Regions from separate parts of the Homo sapiens genome. Here regions 2, 3, 4, 5, 6 and 7 are each linked to region 1. Evidence: promoter capture Hi-C in 16 types of primary human blood cells and fetal thymus (Javierre and others, 2016). All regions are on one chromosome and are shown on one strand. The core of a region is centred on a gene start or on the middle of the fragment in contact, and the rest is flanking DNA. Distances in the headings are between cores, read along the strand shown. Region 1 holds the start of STYK1 (serine/threonine/tyrosine kinase 1). Region 2 has its middle 1.7 kb from the start of OLR1. Region 3 has its middle 16 kb from the start of GABARAPL1-AS1. Region 4 has its middle 34 kb from the start of GABARAPL1-AS1. Region 5 has its middle 31 kb from the start of KLRD1. Region 6 has its middle 14 kb from the start of KLRD1. Region 7 overlaps KLRD1 (killer cell lectin like receptor D1).

Region 1 (2,708 bases), core at 76-2,575:
GTCTTCCTTTCCCCTTTTGAGGTAAAATTCACATAACATAAAATCAACCATTAGCCATTTAAAAATGAACAGTTCAGTGGCATTAAGTACAATTCATCCTGTTTTTAAAAAGCCCTGAAGGAAGTGAAAATGCCAATAGAGAAAGCTCTAGAGAACTGACATACCTCAATCTCTAAATATGCCACATTACATTGACTCAAGTTCTTTTTGCTCTAATGACTGTCAGTTTGTGTTTGGTATGCGTTCAATGCTGAATAAATTGGTCACATATTCAAGTTACCTATGACTCTTATTTCTTTAATTGAATTTGTATTAGGTGTTAATATCTAACAGAATTCCTTCAGCTATCTATTGTCTTAAGTATTTTCTATTATTTTAGTTTCCATGTGGACGGGTAACATAACTACCTTGTTCACTGTTTCCCCAGAGGAGAACCCAGGACATAATGGGATATATGTGTGTGTGTGTGTGTGTGTGTGTGTGTGCGCGCGCGCGCGCGCGCGGGCTCTAAATGAATGATCTATTACGTAATCTTGGGGTTTTAATTCTCATTAATTCCTTATAGGTTCCCCCACGTCTCCGCAGTGGTCAGTACTTTTTTTTTTCTTTTTTTTTTTTTTTTTTCTGAGACGGAGTCTTGCTCTGTCGCCCAAGCTGCAATGCAGTGGCACAATCTCGGCTCTATGCGATCTCTGCCTCCTGGGTTCAAGAGATTCTCCTGCTTCAGCCTCCTGAGTAGCTGGGATTATAGGCGCCCGCCATCACGCCTAATTTTTGTATTTTTAGTAGAGACGGGGTTTCGCCACGTTGGCCAGGCTGGTCTCGAACTGCTGACCTCAGGTGATCCACCCGCCTTGGCCTCTCAAAGTTCTGGGATTACAGGCGTAAGCCACCACTCCCGTCCCTTCAGTATTATCTTGTAACACCCCGGCAAAGCCTTCAGGTGGAGAATGTTCCTGGCGCGGAATAATCCACCTGAATGTGAATCCTGACCATTTTTAGGCGCCAATGGAGGCCGCTGCTACGGGGCCGGCCGTGAGGTGGCGCTGTTGCCCTGTATCGTGACTCCGTTTTCACCTGGACTGGAGTCACCGTGATACCTGACATCTAGCAATCACTAGAGTAGGAAATGAGTATAGATCAGCAACAAGTCCAGCCTTTACAGTTGCAGCAGAGGTTTCCTGTGGCTCGAGTGTGGCGAGTCCCGGAAACCTCGGAGCCCGCAGACTTCCCTTCGCGGGAGCCCGCCCGAACTCCATCCTTTGCCGGCAGCCACGCCCCGCAGTGGGAAGGAGGGACTGAAAAGCATTTCCTTGAGGCTGGCACACCTTGCCCTACCCAACCCTGTCATTATTTCCCCTCCGACTGGGCCGGTGCCATCGGAAACCGGAGTGACCAGAGGAGGGACACGGTAGTGAACGGGGTATGGGGGGCGGGCGCGGCGGGGAGGGTAAAGAAGGTGGGAAGGGAATGGCAGCGAGGCAGCTGGGGGAGGACTTTGCAGTTGGGGAGGGAGAAAAAGGGAAGAGGCTGGGAGCGGAACGGGTGTTTATGTGAACAAACAGAAATCACCAAGTGAATTAACCTGTGTTTCTTCGGAACCAGCATCTTGTGGGGTTTGGCTTCTGTGTTTCTATATGATAAGGGAGTAAACCTGACTCAGCAGATTTGGTGCAGAGAGAAACATGAGAAAACCCAGGAATGGGGGACCTCTGTTTATTCCTGGAGAGGGGGCCATCAGGAGAGGGGGAAGGGAAAGAATGAGGTTACAGGAATTACTTGTCAGAGGACTGCATAGCCTTTCAGACCATGGAATCGTTGCTTTCAGCTTCGGCTTCCTCATCTGCAAAGCATAAATACGGTAATTACTTTCCAGGGTTGTTGCGATATTTAAATGAGATATCAATAACCATGCTTTAAAAGTGTACAGCCTGATGTGCTATCCCTTGTTGACTGAATCTCTGTTTTCTTTCCTTCTTTTTATTTGGGGTGGGGAGTGGGGGAGGGAGTCTTGCTCTGTCACTCAGGCTGGAGTGCAATGGCGCGATCTCGGTTCACTGCAACCTCCGCCTCCCAGGTTCAAGCGATTCTCCTGCCTCAGCCTCCCAAGTAGCTGGGATTACAGGCTCCCACCACCACGGCCGGCTATTTATTTTTTTGTATTTTTAGTAGAGACGGGGTTTCACCATTTTAGCCTCTGTTTTCTTTTCAATGTCTTTTTTCCTCTTTCATTTTTCTCTATCAACCCTTCATCCCCCCTTTCTTTCTTTCATTTATGCGATTGTTGCTTCCTTCTGTAATGGGTCCTCTCCACATTGGAGTTTCTTATACCTATGAGACCACACTTCCTTCCCACTCGGTGGGAAGTAGTGGCAATAAAGGAGTCGAGTTACTGTAATGTGCAGCACAGCTCAACTGAAATACACCTGGAAACAGAACTCTGTGCTGTCTACCTGGTTTTTCCCCCTCAATGCACCGGAATCTCCACTGACAGCTAGCTAGGGGGCAGCTAGGTCTTTCAATGAGACATCATGAAGTATTTGCTTCAATGAAAATCATATACTTTTTCGTTCAGTGCCTCCATTACTGTGTGAGTTTGCTAGGGCTGCTGTAACAAGGTACCACAAACTGCATGGCTTTTGGCACCAGGCACCAGGGACTGATTTTGTGGAAGACAATTTTTTTCACAGATGCCGATGAGGTTGGCG
Region 2 (2,708 bases), core at 148-2,647, 500 kb after region 1:
TCACTCACACTCAAGGGGAAGGATTACACAAGATCATGAACACCAGGAGGCAGGAATAATGAGAGCCCTCTAAAATTTTTCAAATCTGTCCAGTTATCTGCCACACAAGGACTGTAGAAACTATCCCACTGATCTTTAAAAACAGGATAAACCCAAACGTCCATCAATGGATAAATAAAATGTAGAATGTGGTTTATACATACAATGGAATATTATACAGACTTTAAAAGGAACAAAATTCTGACACATGCTACCACATTGATAATTGTTGAAGACATAATGCTAAATAAAATAATTTAGATACAAAAGGACAAATATTATATGATTCCACCAGTATGAGGTGCCTAAAATAAACCAATTTATAGAAACAAAAAAATGGAACGGTGGTTTCCAAGAAAGGAGAAAGGAATTGGGATTTGTATTAGGTCTGTGCAGAGAAAGAGGATCAATACGCTGTGTACATACATAGAAATAGGTTTATTATAAGGAATTGGCTTGTATGATTATAGAGCCTGGTAATTTAAAATCTGGAGTGTGGGCTGCCAGACTCGGCCAGCGAGTGGAGAACTGGGAGAGTTGATGGCTGAGTTCCAGTCCATAGACAGCTGGGGGATTCTTTCTTATTTGGGGGAAGGTTAGAAGCTTTTTGTTCTTTAGGCCTTCAACTTTTGGATGAGGCCCACCTACATTATGCAGCGAAATCTACTTTCCTCTTCTGATTAATATGTTAATCTCATTTAAAAGCATCCTGTCTGGGAACCCCATGACCCAGTCAAGAAGACACAGAAGGCCAGCACGGTGGCTCACGCTTGTAATCCCAGCACTGTGGGAGGCTGAGGCAGGCGGATCACTTGAGGACAGGAGTTCAAGACCAGCCTGGCCAACATGGTGAAACCCTGTCTCTACTGAAAATACAAAACAATTAGCCGGGAGGGGTGGCGGGCACCTGTAATCCCAGCTACTCAGGAGGCTGAGGCAGGAGAATTGCTTGAACCCAGGAGGCGGAGGTTGCAGTGAGCCGAGATCATGCCATTGCAATCCACCCTGGGTAACAAGGGTGAAACTCCATCTCAAAAACAAACAAACAAACAAACAAACAAAACACATGAAATTCACCATCACAGGAGTTATTGCTTGGTGGGTATAGAGTTTCAGTTGGGGAAGATGAAAAGTTCTGGAGATGGATGGTGGTGATGGCTGCACAACAATGTAAATGTACTTAATGCCACTGAACAGTACACCTAAAAATGGTTGAAATGGTAAACACTTTATGTTCTATAATATTCATGGCATCCAAAATAACTGAGTCACTGTAGAAATGATAATGTGCCCTTTTCAGTGTGATATCGTTTCAGTATTTTTTAATTCTTTTTTTTTTTTTTTTTTAAAGGGAGTCTCGCTCTGTTGCCCAGGCTGGAGTACAGTGGCACAATCTCAGCTCACTGAAAATGAAAAGCATTTTCATTTTCCACCTCCCAAATAGCTGGGATTATAGGCTTGCAACCAGGCCCAGCTAACTTTTGTATTTTTAGTGGTGACAGGGTTTCAACAGGTTGGCCAGGCTGGTCTCGAACTCCTGACCTCAGTGATCCACCCCCCCCCTCAGCTTCCCAAAGTGCTGAGATTACAGGCATGAGCCACTGCACCTGGCCAACTTTTTCAATTTGTTCTCAAATACTCTGCACATAATAAAAGGAATATAGGAAACAGGGAGGAGGAGGGAAATGGAATCCTAATTAGGCTGTCAATATTGGTAATTTTTCCTAATAGTTTCCTATATGTTTTATTTATGTATTTATTTTTCCATTCTTCCTTTGTGTATTCTTTTCTTTGCACTTTTTTTTCCTGGAGTAATTTAAAGTAAATGCCAGATATCATATCATTTTGCTTATAAATACTTCCTTCAGAAGACATCTCTAATAGATATATATCTGGTTAGGAGGTTGTCAAGGGAAAATAGAAAAGTATTCTATCAGTAAATACATATAGACATACTTATGGGTCTCTCATGTAAGCGTCTTTGTGACATGAGTCAATCATGGATTTTACTGAAATACATTATTTGATGGGTAATTCAACTGTGCTGAATATTAGTACTATACTAATAATTATTATTTATTGGCTTCTTATTATGCTCCAAGTACAAAGCTTGTCATTTTTAACCAGCGTGTCATTTGAATTCCTATAGCAACGTGACATTTTTCACAAACCTAGTGTAAAAAAGCTTATTATTTTTACCCAGCATGTCATTTGAATTCCTATAACAATGTTATCAGGTAGACATTATCCCTAATTTCCAGACATGTCATTTGAATTCCTATAACAATGTTATCAGGTAGACATTATCCCTAATTTCCAGACAAAGACATAGATTCAAAGTATTAAGATTTCCCAAGATTGTAGACTAAAGGAAAGTACTGAAACTAGCTCTTTCTGCATTCAAAGTGCTCTCTGCTGCTACGTTACACTGGCACTGCATGAACTAGTAGCCCCAGATAAATTCTAAAATCACCCAGGACACACCATCGCTGGAAATGGGAGCCATATGTGATTCACCCCAAAATTCTTAGATCCATTGCCAGATAAAACAGTGAAAATCAAAAGAGAATATATCTGATTCGTAAAAGACACCATATAGAAACAGTCTGCTAATGAAATTAGCAAACAAACATTGGAATCAAATATTTTGGCCCATAATTCTGGCACAT
Region 3 (2,708 bases), core at 147-2,646, 440 kb after region 1:
TTCTGTATTAGTGAAGATTCTCCAGAGAAATAGAACCAATGTTATATATAGCCATGTGTCACTTAAGGATGGGGAAATGTTCGGAGAAATGTGTTATTGGGGGCTTCATCATTGTGTGAACATCATAGAGTGTATTTACACAAACCTAGACGATATAACTACTACACACCTAGGCTATACGGTATAGCCTATTGCTCCTAGGCTACACACCCATTCAGCACATTACTGGAGTGAACAGCACAGGCTATTGGAACACAATGGTAAGTATTTGTGTATATAAACATATCTAAACATAGAAGAGGTACAGTAAAAACATGGTGTTATAATCTTATGGGATAACCATCATGTATACAGGCTGTCATTGACTGAAATATCTATATGTAGCACATGACTAGATATAAATGCATATAAAGACTATATGTATATAAATATCTACATATAAATAAAGAGAGAGATTTATTATTCTTATAGAAATTGGCTCATGGAGGCTTATGGAGTCTGAGAAACCTCACCATCTGTCTGCAAGCAGGAGAACCAGGAAAGTCAGTGGTATAATTCAATCCAAGTTTAAAGGTCTGAGACCAGGAGCTGTGGATGTCCCAGCTCATGGACAGAAAGAGGGACTCTCTACCCTCTAACTTTTGTTCGATGGAGGCCCTCAATGGATTGAGTGACACCTGCCTACATTGGTGGGAGAGGATCTTCTTTACTAGGTCTACTGATTCAAACGCTAACCGCTTCCGGAAACACCCTTACAGAAACAGCCACGGATAATGTTTCGCTACCTATCTGGGCATCCCTATAGCTCAGTCAAGTTGACACATAAACTTAACCATCACAAGCGGCTATTTCCAGAACTGTTCCCAATGTGTTGTTAAACAAAGAGCACCCAGTTGAGTCGACCACAACCCTGGCTATACATATCACTTAAGAGGCTTGTAAAAAGTAAAGATGCCATGAATTTTACATTATGTGAATTTTACCTCAATAAAAAGGAGCCTATAGCATAGGGAGGGGGCGGTGGGGGGAAAAATTAAAAAAACTAAAAGTATGGATGCCAAACCCTCCGGTGTCCTCCCCAAGAGTGATGCAGAAGTGGGGCTCTGCCATCAGACGTTTTTGGGAGCTCACCACTGATGGTCATGTGCAGTCAGGGTTGGAAAGCACTGCAGAGATTGATTTTGTTCAGTAGGATGGATAGGGATTTTAATTGAATGTAGCAATAAAGACCCAGGGTTTTTGTTTTTGTTTTTGAAGAACAAACAAACAAAACTCCCAACATTAGAGCAGTCATAAGCCGATTGTAAAAAACCAATATTATCCAACTTCAAAAAATAACAATTAAAAGAGGTCAGACGCGGTGGCTCACGCCTGTAATCCCAGCACTTTAGGAGGCCGAGGTGGGTGGAGTTTGAGGCTGGTAGTTCGAGACCAGCCTGGCCAACATGGTGAAATCCCATCTCTACTAAAAATACAAAAATTAGCCAGGTATGGTGGCAGGCGCCTGTAATCCTGGCTACTGGGGAGGCTGAGGCAGGAAAATCGCTTGACCCCAGGAGGCGGAGGTTGCAGTGAGCTGACATTGTGCCACTGCACTCCAGCCTGGGTGACAGAGTGAGACTTCATCTAAAAAAAAAAAAAAAAAAAAAACGAAAAAACCAGCCTGGCCAATATGGCAAAACCATCTCTTCTAATAATACAAAAATTAGCCAGGTATGGTGACATACGTGCCTGTAATTCCAGCTACTAGGAAGGCTGAGGCACAAGAATCACTTGAACCCCAGAGGCGGAGGTTGCAGTGAGCCAATATTGTGCCACTGCACTCCAGCTTGGGCGACAGAGTGAAACTGTGTCTCAGAAAATACATACATACATAGATAAATAAAATTTTAAAAACTCAAAGGATCATTTTTAACTTTTCCTTGGATAGGCCCCAATAAATCTGTTACAAACAAAATACCCGAATCATGGTCCCCAGGTCTTCATTCCTTGTTAGGCTGAGATATGCTGGATTGTAGACTTATTTTTATACTGATTGTTAATTTCTCTCATTCATAACACTTTATCTAGTAGTCTCAAGATTCCATTTGCATAGATAAAACTGTGTTTAAAATGCTGTTTTCTGTACAGTAAGTCCTCACTTAACATCAATAGATTCTTGGTAACTATGACTTTAGGCAAAATAACATGTAATGAGACTAATTTGATCATAGGCTAATTGATATAAACAAGAGTTACTTTCCCACAGCATGTTTCTGGTCAGAAAAGACACAACCATTTCTTTTTTCTTTTTTTTTTTTTTTTTTTTTTTGAGACAGAGTCTTACTCTGTTGCTCAGGCTAGAGTGCAGTGGCATGATCTCAGCTCACTGCAACTTCTGCCTCCCAAGTCCAAGCGATTCTCCTGCCTCGGCCTCCCAAGTAGCTGGGATTACAGGCACCCGCCACCATGCCTCGCTAATTTTTGTATTTTTAGTAGAGATGGGAGTTCACCATGTTGGCCAGGCTGGTCTCGAACTCCTGACCTCAGGTGACCCACCCGCCTCAGCCTCCCAAAGTACTGGGATTACAGGCGTGAGCCACGACACCCAGCCAAGACCCAAACATTTCTAATATTTAACATTTAAATAAATGTGAGTTATACATACATTTAAGAAAGATTAATAAAAACAAGGTAACTGTTTACCCAATTTATGGTGAATTAGTGAG
Region 4 (2,708 bases), core at 122-2,621, 430 kb after region 1:
GGAAATCTGAGCATGACGGACAACGTATGTACAACAAGTGATCCTAATGGTCTTCGAGAAAACAAAAGGACTACTATACTCCTCACTTTGTTAGAGTTGAAAACCATAAAGCTAGAGTGATGGCAGCTCCTGCGAACTCTGATGAAACCACAAAGGAAGTCATTGGGTCAAGAAATGCATTACGAGCCACCATGGGACACTACCACCCTTCTGCTTAGCAGAGCTCAGAGTAAGGGTCCCTTCCTGTGTGAAAGGCACTGACTGCTACAGCCTCCAGGAGTCCTTCTCACTGCATATGTGTGATAAATGTGAGATTCATTATTTTGTTCTTTGTAGAAAATTAAGTATGAAATAATTTCTTACTCTTTTTTCAAGTTGTTTCAAGGATGCTTCTCAATAAATTCTTTTTTAAAAAATTGACGATTTCCCCAAGAGTTTCTCCACTGGTTGCAAACCGTATATTTAATTTTCTTGGAAGCATTTTGATATATGATAAGGGCACAAGTTTGATACCAGAGAAGGCAAGATATTAGTTTGAGTTGTGTCACTTACTATATTTATAACTTTGGTCCAGTTGAATTCCCTAATCTACTTTTTCCACATCTGTAAAATGAAGGGGATAAAAGTATCCTCATCACAAGGTTTTTCTAGGGATTGAATGAGAAAGCATTGTTAACTGTTGTTATTGTTTCTTCTGTCTTCTTTGTTTGCAATTCAATACTGTTTCTCCTTTGGTGCAGTTTTACTATTTCTCTTTCTTTCATGAAATACCTTATGTATAAAATCCTCATAATGTGGCAGAATCAAGGACTGCCTCAGTAGTTTACTGTAAGGGATGTTAGCAACTCCCCTGTCCCCTGTTAAGCCTAATTTAGAATCTCCCCCACCGGTTGGCTGATGCCAATGACTCCATGTTTGGAAATACATTTACTTTGTTTATGGGTAGAATAATAGAGGACACATTATCCGTCGTATATAGTTTATTGTATGTGAGTTTAAACCTGATATAATTATAGATGCAAATGGAATTCAAAATTGATATTTTCAAGTGTGAACATGTTAAAATCTCCATTGTAACAGAATGGTAATGATGTTCTATCTAAGCATATGATTCAAAGAAAACAAAAAGTGCAATCATCAAGCGGAAAGTATACTTATGGCCAGGCATGGTGGCTCACGCCTGTAATCCCAACACATTGGGAGGCCGAGGTGGGTGGATCACCTGAGGTCAGGAGTTCAAGACCAGCCTAGACAACATGGTGAAACCCCATCTCTACTAAAAATACAAAAAGTAGCCGGGTGTGGTGGCGGGCACCTGTAATCCCAGCTACTTGGGAGGCTGAGGCAGGAGAATCACTTGAACCCAGGAGGCGGAGGTTGCAGTGAGCCGAGATCACGCCATTGCACTCCAGCCTGGGCAACAGAGAGAGACTCTGAAAAAAAAAAAAGAAAGAAAAGAAGAAAAGAAGGGAAGGAAGGAAGGAAGGAAGGAAGGAAGGAAGGAAGGAAGGAAGGAAGGAAGGAAAAGAAAATACATTTAAATAAAACTGATTTCACACAATAAAATAAACATAAAAATAAAATATTAAGAAGTTTATTAGTGTCAATAAAGCAGACAAAACATACTTATCATTACCATAATTGTTTTCAACACAATATTGTTTTCTGTGCCATAAAGAACAATAGTCATGTACCATTTTTTTAAAAAGAGTGCCCCTCTAATGTCTCCAAGATTTTCTTTGTAGCTTCTGATGCTCATTATTTAGAGTTTTTTGATGGTGATTTCTTGATCTGTAAAAGTCTCATAGATTTTTTTTTAAAACAGGATTAGAAAAATTGTGGGGAAAAAAACAGGATCAGAGAATTTCCATTCCATCCTATGACGGTGTCTAAATGATGTGATGAGTAAAACATGCAGGACCAACAATGTACATAACTTCACTGAAGCAGTGACACTAGCACCAGTGAAAATCAAGGTCACGCATGTGCACATTGCAACTGTCTCCTGGCCAGCAGTGACTGTAAGACTTCATATATTTTGAGAGGCATGCTAATTTCAGAGACATTAAAATGTAAAAAACAATATGTATTAGTCCGTACTCATGCTGCTATAGGGACATACTCGAGACTGGGTAATTTGTAAAGGAAAGAGGTTTAATTGACTCACAGCTCTGCATGGCTGCAGAGGTCTCAATCGTGGCAGAAGGGGAAGCAAATACGTCCCTCTTCACTGGGTGGCCGGGACAGAGAAATGCCAAGTAAAGGGAGAAAAGCCCCTTATAAAACCATCAGATGTTATGAGAACTCACTCACTATCATGAGAATAGCATGGGTGCAACTGCTCCCATGATTTAATTACCTTCCCACTTGGTCCCTCCCATGACATGTGGGGATTAGGGGAACTTCAATTCAAGATGAGATTTGGTTTGGGACAGAGCCAAACTATACCACAATGTATCTTAGACTCACTAAATTAGATTAAAGAAAATAAAATATGAAAGTGAAGCAAACTCTATTATAAAAATGAATAAGTCTTAAAAAACACACAAAACACTGCATCAAGCCTAAGATGGAAAGGTATTAAATTTTCTAAAAATGTTATACAAAAATTAGTACATCTACTTACACAAAAAGTGTAAGCATATAAAATTTAACACATCTACTTGGATAAGATGTTTGAAAAAAATAAATTATAAATGTTAACCAAC
Region 5 (2,708 bases), core at 110-2,609, 400 kb after region 1:
CTATCACCTAGGAAAGCGCACACAGAGTGAGGCTCAACGGACAGCTACAAGAGAGGGTCAAATATCCATTGTAGTTAATCTGCCAAAAGTGAGTAGGGGCAATACCCTGTGCAATGTGGTCTCCTCCTCCAGAAAACAATAGGATCATCTTAGGCAGGGGCCACAAGTCTGGCATGCAGTGGAAGCCTCTGCATAAGAAACAGTCCTTCACTCTCTGCCAGTCTATGATGGTCGCTGTGTTGTCATGTCCAGAATAACGATAAATCCAGGCAGCACTGGTAGAGATCAAATAGTGCACAGACTTTAAACCTTTCACAAAATTTAACCTGAAAGGAATCACAGATGTACATGTAAAATACAGATGTCCACATTCTCTGATGAGACCAGTTGGAATTAAGCTGTTGATTGAGTCTGCACTAACTGATCAATATTTTCTGTAATCTAAAACTTTTCTAAAACATAAAGTCTACTAATTTTTAAAAATCAGAGGGACTAATTGAAGTAATATCATAAAATAAATAAAAATTATAATTTCTAAATAGTATATCACAGTTAAGATTGTATTCAAATACATTTTAATTGTGATTCTCAGAATCACCTGTGAAATATTTTTATACAATTTTAGAAAAGAAATAAGTGAAGTAAAAAAATCATTTTTATATAGGCTGTTTGCATATCATAACATAATCAATCAATGGCAGAACTGAGTCCCAAATTCACAAATTCAGCTTCCAAATTCTACTCTCCTTCATTCTTTTCCACCATGAAGTGGGAAAATAATAATAAACTCAGTAAAAAAACACCACCACCTATCCAAAACCAAAATAGCAATTGATTTATTTAGGGACTAAGTTCTCCCCTATAATAAAAATTAAAATGACTATCAAATAGGGAGTTAATAACATTTGTTTATATTTTTCCCTTTTCCGCTTCCTCCTTGCTTTTCTTAGCTCAGTGAATGTATTAAAGGTCTAAATATTTCATGCAATTAGAATCAGTAGTGGGGATACAGTTAAATGGGTGAGTCTCAGTGAGTCTACAGTTCCATGTACCCTGCATGTTTGAGATAGATCAGAAACCCACCTCTACCTTTGGAATATCAAATATCTAAAAAAAAAAAAAAAAAAAAAAACTCTGTGAGGCCAACATTTGCCTTTGTATTTATTTCATTCATTCTGCTTAATTTCTTCTTCAGGCTTGACTTTTATTTTCTCATTTGTTGCTACTGCCATGCCCTAACCACACAAAACTAGACTTAATGGTGAGTCATCTGAATGATTTTGTTTCCACTTATTTCTTATTTTCCATTACATACGCCTAATTAACTGTGGCATGCAGCTAAATTAAATTTCATCATCTCTTGTCACTAAGTATGCAGAAAAGAATAATTAAAATTTTTAAAAAGAAACTTCATCTTCTCTTTTTCTGTGTCCAGATTGCATATTCTGAGGATAGAGGTCAAACTTCCTGGTGCTAATTCATATCAGGCTCTCAAATTTCACCTTGATTATCACTGGAAATTGACCATTATTTTACTTTTTTTTTTTTTTTGTCAAATTTTATGGTGGCACATGCCTGTAATCCCAGCTACTCGGGAGGCTGAGGCAGGAGAATCGCTTGAACCTGGGACGGGGAGGTTGTGGTGAGCAGAGATCATGCCATTGCACTCCAGCCTGGGCAACAAGAGCGAAACTCCGATTCAAAAGAAAAAAAGAAAAAGAAAAATTTCTTATTCTCAATACCAAGATATTTTGTTGTTATTTTCAAATTTTGATCACTGCCCTTAAACCATCTCTCTTACAGGAAGTGAGCAAAGGCCAAAAGGATAAAGATACTAAAAGGCTGTGATAAACAGAAAATGTCAAAGGCTACCCTAGAGAAATTTATAAACATTTATACCCATATACCGACCTAGTCACTAAATATCCAAACAAACAAAGCACAAGAACAGAAAACATATTATAATTTTAAATATAGATTACAAGTGTAGTGAGGTGATAATTTAAGAAATACAGAGAACATCCAAGGACTATTATTTATAATAGTCCTGAAAAGAAAGCAATTAAATGTCCATCAAAGGTAGAGTAAGTAAACTGATTGAGAGTATATCATACAAAGAAATTACATACACAAGTAAACTACAGCTGTCCACAGCAACACAGATAACTCTAATAAATACAGAATAAAACAATGCAAAAAAAGTATAGTTTCATTCTATTCACACAAATATAATTAAAATAAGCAAAAAAGCTACTAAGAATATGTGCATAAGAAGCAAGAAAATCAGAAGAATGATTAATTCTAGGAGGAAGCATTGTAATAAGGAGGATCAATGCAGGAAACACTCTGGGGTGTGGTAATATCTATCTTTACTTAACTTTTATCATTATTCATTAATCTCTACATATATGTTTTCTGTCCTTTCCTGTATGTTTGTCATATTTCAGAGGGAAAAATATTAATTGATTTATCTAATTGGTAATTTTTATTATCATAAAAGTTTATCTTAAAAAGAGTGGAGGATATACAAACGCAGTTTTGCATATTATCTCACTTGATATTAGAGGTATGACTAAAATAACATTCCATTGTAACTGTGAACTTTGAATACCTGGTTTCTCAAGTAACTCAACAATTCCCGCAACACCTAACCCTAACTACATGCTTCGGATAAGGTAAACTTAAACTAAATCAGCTTCCCCCGATGG
Region 6 (2,708 bases), core at 83-2,582, 380 kb after region 1:
TCGAGAAATAGAACATTTCCAGAATCTTCAAAAGCTCTCCTCATTTAACCTTCCAATTACTACCCTCTTTCTCTTTATAGATGTTAGCGCTGTCTTGACCTCTAACCCTGTACAGTTCAGTTTTGCCTGGTTTGATAATTTATCTTACTATAACGTATATAGTCACATAATATAAATTGTTTTGTGTCAAGCTTCATCCAAGAACTCACTTTCATGACCTTGACACTAAATAGGCAGGACACAAATTACCCTGGGCAGTGGATAAGATACACTGATTGGCTCAGTTGGGACCCAATTTGGATATCAGAGTGGGTCCAACTTCAGTCAAAACAAAATGGGGGCCGGGTGCAGTGGCTCACACCTATAATCCCAGCACTTTGGGAGGCCAAAGCAGGTGGATCATGTGAGGTCAGGAGTTTTGAGACTAGCCTGGCCAATGTGGTGAAACCCTGTCTCTACTAAAAATACAAAAAATTAGCCAGGCATGGTGGCATGGGCCTGTAGTCCCAGCTACTCAGGAGGCTGAGGCAGGAGAATTGCTTGAACCTGGGAGGCAGAGGTTGCAGTGAGCCGAGATCATGCCATTGCACTCCAGACTGGGCTATAGAGTGAGACTCCTTCTCAAAAAAACGAACAAAAAAATGGGTAGGAATGATTATCTAGAGGAAATTTTGAGGTACTAAACTTCTAGGAGGATGCACTTTGACAAACTGGTAACTCCTCTTCATACTTGCTTGTTTTTATTTTGCTTTTTGTTTTTCTTAAGATGGATCTTCCTGAATGAGTCCACCATGGATTTACATGTGCAAATTCATGTTAAAATACAGTATTTGGGAAAAGACAAGAGTAAAGAACACATATTTGGGTGCGTTGTATAGAGAAATCTTCAAGTCCATATTCATCAAGAAAGAAAGAGTAGCAATGACTTTCACAAGCTTTGATTTGGAAACAGCACATCCACCATCTCTGAATTTACCATCTTTGATGTACAGCGACCATTTATTAAGTAGGAGAGGCAGAATCAACAATGTGGCTGAGACATAAGAAGAAAAGGAAAGTGAGGATAGCTAGCGTTCATACCAAGGGAATAAAAATACTGCCTGTTAACCCCTGAGATTTTTTTTCAGTTTTTATTTTCAAATGAATATAGATTAACAAAAAAAGTTACAAAAATAGCTTAGGGACCTCCCTTGTCCCTGCTGTTGGGTTTCCCCAGTGATAATACACACACACCTCATTTTACTGCACTTCACTTTATTGTGCTTCACAGGTGTGGCATTTTTTACAAATTGAGGTTTTGTGGCAACCCTACCTCTAGCAAGTCTATCAGTGCCATTTTTTTTTTAAAGCATGTGCTCACTTCCTGTCTCTGCCTCACATCTTGGTAATTCTTGCAATATTTAAAACTTTTTTACTATTATTGCAATATCTTTTATGGTGATCTGTGATCAGTGATGTTTGATGTTACTGTTGAAATGGGTTTGTGGTGCAACAAACAATGCCCATATAACATAATGAAATTAATTGATGAATGTAAGTGTTATGACGGCTTCACTGGCCAGCGATTGTCCATCTCTCTACCTTTCCTTAGGCCTCCCAATTCCCTGAAACACAACAACACTGAAATTAGGCCAGTTAATAACATTACAATGACCTCTAAGAGTAAAAGTGAAAGGAAGAGTCACACATCTCTTACTTTAAATCAAAAGCCAGAAATGAATAAGCTTAGTGAGGAAGGCATTTTGAAAGCCCACATAGGCCGAAAGGCCTGTTGAGTCAAACATTTAGCCAAATGGTGAATGCAAAGAAAGAGTACTTGAAGAAAATCAAAATTGCTATGCCAGTGAGCATGCGAATTATGTGTATATGTGTATATATATATGGAGAAAGTTTTACTGGTCTGTATCAAAGATCAAACCAGCCACACAATGTTCCTTTAAGCCAAAGCCTAAGGCGCTAACTCTTCAATTCTATGAAGGCTGTGAGAGGTGAGAAAGCTGCAGAAAAAAAAAAAATTGGAAACTAGCAGAGGTTGCTTCTTGAGATTTAAAGAAAGAAGCCATCTAAATAATAGAAATGTACAAGGTGAAGCAGTAAGTGCTGATGAAGAAGCTACAGCAAGTTATCCAGAAGATCTAACTAAGATAATTGATAAAGGTGGCTACACTAAACAACAGATTTTGAGTGTACATGAAACAGGCTTCTGGAAAAGCCATCTAGGACTTTTATAACTAGAGAGGAAAAGTCAGTGTCTTGCTTCAAAGCTTCAAAGGACAGGCTGGCTCTCTTGTTAGGGGCTAACTGGTGACTTAAGTTGAAGCCAATGCTCATTTACCATTCCAAACAATTTAGGACCCTTAAGAATTATGCTCAGTCTACTCTACCTGTGCTCTCTATATAGAGCAACAAAGTCCAGATGGCAGCATGTCTGTTTACAACATGGTTTGCTACATATTTTAAGCCCATTGTTGAGACATAGTGCTCAGAAAAAAAGATTTCTTTAAAAATGTTATGGCTCATTGAGAATGAGCCTGGTCACCCAAGAGCTCTGATGAAGACGTACAAAGAAATTCATGTCATTTTCAAGCCTGCTAACACAATATCCATTCGGCAGTCCGTGAATCAAGGAGTCATTTCAACTTTTAAGTCATATTATTTAAGATATACATTTTGTATTTATTAAATAAATAGTGATTCCTCAGATGAAA
Region 7 (2,708 bases), core at 127-2,626, 350 kb after region 1:
AGGCTGTCTACAAGATGGCTGCAGTTCCTTGCTAGCTGTTTATAGGAGGCCTCAGTTCTTTGCCACATGGAACGCTTAAAAGAGTTGCTCACGACAAGGTAGCTGGCTTCCACCAAATCAGATGATATGAGAAAGGGCAACGCCAAAGACATACTGTCTTTTATAATCTAGCCTCAAAAGTGATATGCGATAACTTCTGCCTTATTCTCTTGGTCACAGTGATCAACCCTTATACAATGTAATTGATTATATCAAAAGGGTTAAATTCCAAGAAACAGGGATCATTGGGAGCATATAGGAAGCTGTTTACAAGAGTCTAATCTTTGGCCCCAAATGATTTATGTCCCTCCCACATACAAAATCCACACCAACTGCCAAATCTCATTCCGTTACAATGTCAGTTCAAAGTCCGAAATTTGTCACATCCAGGTATGAGTGAGACTCATCAGGTGAAGTTCCTTAAGTTTAGCTTCTTGAGTATCATTTTTCTCCATGTGAAGGCTTGTGAAATTAACAATACTAGAGATTTCCTTCCCTTATACACTCAACATTCGAAAGAACAAACTATAGACATCCTTGTTCAAAAGAGGGAGGGGCATGAGAATTACAAAGGAGTCACTGATGCATAATAATTTAAAATCTAGCATAGCAAATGTCGGGACTCATTTGATTAGGACTCAGTCCTATTTCTGCTTATAAAATCACTCTTCATAACTCTTGGATCCACCTTACAGGCTCTTAGTTCTGTCCTTTGAATTATTCTTACTTTTGAATAAAAGGTAGCAATTCATTGTCAATTTTCTACTGACATAGTCATCTCAAAAGTGTTTTGAGGTTTTCTATGAACTCTATTTGTAAAAACCGCACACATAAATCTCTTCAATCTTCTCTCTACCTGGAGCTTCTGCTGAGATACCTGAGGGACAATACCCTGGGGCTTCCTAGAAGCCCTATTATTTGACCTTTATAGATCTTCATCTGACTGAATTGAGGCACTACTTGTGTTCTTTCTATGATATTTACAGGAAATTTCAGTCACACCCACACCTTCTTGTTTAGAATCATGCTTTCCTGAGAGCACTCTAGATTGGATCTTTGCTCAGAATCTATTTCTCAATTTTAGCATTTTTGACATGCTAACATTTGAGAGTCCAGGAATCTCAAAACTATCAAGTTCTGTCTTCTTTTGCTCAACAGCCCTTCCATTAGCTTATGTGTGTTCTATAGCATTGTAATATAAGTAGTAGGAAGAAATCAGACAAGATATTCAACACTCTAGTTGGAAATAAGTTTAGAGCATTCTCTTAAATCATTAAGTACATTTTCTACTTTCCACAATGCTACAGACAAAAGTGTTGCTAAACTTTCTGGTACTAAATAGAAAGATTTTTACTTTCTCCAGTTTCTAATATGTTTTCACTTCCCTACTATAAGCCCATACTAGAAGGTTTCAGTCTTTCCTGTCCTTTTGGCCTCCATCCACTGCCTGTTTTCAAGCACTCCAAAATTTTAGTGGTTTTTTTTTTTCTTTATAATAGTAACTTCATTCTTGGTACCAAAATATGTATTGATTATTGCTATGTGACACGTTAATATTTAGTGACTTAAAAGAATAAAAGTTATGTCTGGGCGCAGTGGCTCACGCCTGTAATCCCAGCACTTTGGGAGGGTGAGGTAGGCAGATCACCTGAGGTCAGGAGTTCAAGACCAGCCTGACCAACATGGTGAAACCCCGTCTGTACTAAAAATACAAAAAAATTAGCCAGGAGTGGTGGTGCACACCTGTAATCCCAGCTGCTCAGGAGGCTGAGGCAGGAGAATTGCTTGAATCCAGGAGGCAGAAGTTGCAGTGAGCCGACATGGCCCCACTGCACTCCAGCCCAGGTGACAGAGTGAGACTCTGTCAAAAAAAAAAAAAAAAAAAAGAATAAACACTTTACTATTTCACACAGCTTCTGAGAGTGAGGAATCCTCGAACAGCATAGCACGATGGACCTAGCTCAGGGTCTCTCATGAGGTTGCCGTCAAGGTGTTGGCTGGGGGCTGTAATCATCTGAAGGCTTGACTAAGACTGGAGCCTATACAAGCAAAGAAGGCTCATAGCATGGCTATTGGAAATAGACTTCAGTTCCTTGCTGGCTGTGTGTAAGAGTCTTCAGTTCCTTGCCGCATGGTCCTTTCAACAGGGCTGCTCATGACATTATAACTGGTTTTCCCCAGATCAAGTAATCTGGGAGAGAGGAAAAAGGAAGTCATACTATCTTTGATGACCTATTCTCAGAAATGAAATATCATCATTTCCACTTTATTTCATTGGTCACACAGAGCAACCTTGATACAATGTGGAAAGAAATTCCACCAAGGCATGTATAGCACAAGGTGGGAATCATTGGTGAACATCTTGCAACTTGTCTATAACACATAATTTGTAGATTGTCACCCTTTAAAATGAACACAGATTGATAGTAACAGACATAACTGTTTTCATATAGCAAAATTTGTAAGTACATTTACAACTGGTAAGAAGTGACCTGGAAAAGAATAAAGCAGAGAGTAGAATTTATGGCCTTATATTCTCATCTTACATACTTGGGCACATGTTGGCAAACTATGGCCTGTGGACCAAATCTGTCTCACCATATGTTTTGTCAATAAAATTCTTTTGTAACACAGTCAAACCATTCATTTTTGTATTATTTATGTCTTCT

What was found. Contacts are between HindIII fragments. The CHiCAGO score rates a contact against its expected background, and 5 or more counts as called.
Region 2: a fragment that was not itself captured here is called in contact with the fragment with the promoter of STYK1 in region 1 in 1 of 17 cell types (naive CD8 T cells); the score reaches 5.5 in naive CD8 T cells.
Region 3: a fragment that was not itself captured here is called in contact with the fragment with the promoter of STYK1 in region 1 in 16 of 17 cell types (naive CD8 T cells, total CD8 T cells, total CD4 T cells and 13 more); the score reaches 29.1 in naive CD8 T cells.
Region 4: a contact is called between a fragment that was not itself captured here and the fragment with the promoter of STYK1 in region 1, in 3 of 17 cell types (naive CD8 T cells, total CD8 T cells and neutrophils). The highest score is 8.9, in naive CD8 T cells.
Region 5: a fragment that was not itself captured here is called in contact with the fragment with the promoter of STYK1 in region 1 in 2 of 17 cell types (naive CD8 T cells and total CD8 T cells); the score reaches 6.8 in naive CD8 T cells.
Region 6: a contact is called between a fragment that was not itself captured here and the fragment with the promoter of STYK1 in region 1, in 2 of 17 cell types (naive CD8 T cells and total CD8 T cells). The highest score is 10.8, in naive CD8 T cells.
Region 7: a contact is called between a fragment that was not itself captured here and the fragment with the promoter of STYK1 in region 1, in 5 of 17 cell types (endothelial precursors, total CD8 T cells, naive CD8 T cells and 2 more). The highest score is 8.0, in endothelial precursors.

The regions. Positions count from the first base shown.
Region 1 is chr12:10,672,669-10,675,376 of GRCh38, reverse strand. STYK1 (serine/threonine/tyrosine kinase 1) reads left to right here and starts at 1,325. Exons shown (of 11, transcript NM_018423.3): 1 at 1,325-1,411. The HindIII fragment of the contact is 4,755 bases long and covers 1-2,708 here.
Region 2 is chr12:10,172,442-10,175,149 of GRCh38, reverse strand. It overlaps a transcript of OLR1 not described here and a transcript of TMEM52B not described here. Among named protein-coding and RNA genes, the nearest start is that of OLR1, 1.7 kb to the right of the region's middle. The HindIII fragment of the contact is 1,506 bases long and covers 645-2,150 here.
Region 3 is chr12:10,230,008-10,232,715 of GRCh38, reverse strand. No RefSeq gene overlaps it. Among named protein-coding and RNA genes, the nearest start is that of GABARAPL1-AS1, 16 kb to the right of the region's middle. The HindIII fragment of the contact is 8,341 bases long and covers 1-2,708 here.
Region 4 is chr12:10,247,348-10,250,055 of GRCh38, reverse strand. It overlaps a transcript of KLRD1 not described here. Among named protein-coding and RNA genes, the nearest start is that of GABARAPL1-AS1, 34 kb to the right of the region's middle. The HindIII fragment of the contact is 6,426 bases long and covers 1-2,708 here.
Region 5 is chr12:10,275,539-10,278,246 of GRCh38, reverse strand. It overlaps a transcript of KLRD1 not described here. Among named protein-coding and RNA genes, the nearest start is that of KLRD1, 31 kb to the left of the region's middle. The HindIII fragment of the contact is 3,126 bases long and covers 1-2,708 here.
Region 6 is chr12:10,292,332-10,295,039 of GRCh38, reverse strand. It overlaps a transcript of KLRD1 not described here. Among named protein-coding and RNA genes, the nearest start is that of KLRD1, 14 kb to the left of the region's middle. The HindIII fragment of the contact is 789 bases long and covers 938-1,726 here.
Region 7 is chr12:10,319,083-10,321,790 of GRCh38, reverse strand. KLRD1 (killer cell lectin like receptor D1) reads right to left here. Exons shown (of 6, transcript NM_002262.5): 6 at 1-2,708. Among named protein-coding and RNA genes, the nearest start is that of KLRD1, 13 kb to the right of the region's middle. The HindIII fragment of the contact is 3,098 bases long and covers 1-2,708 here.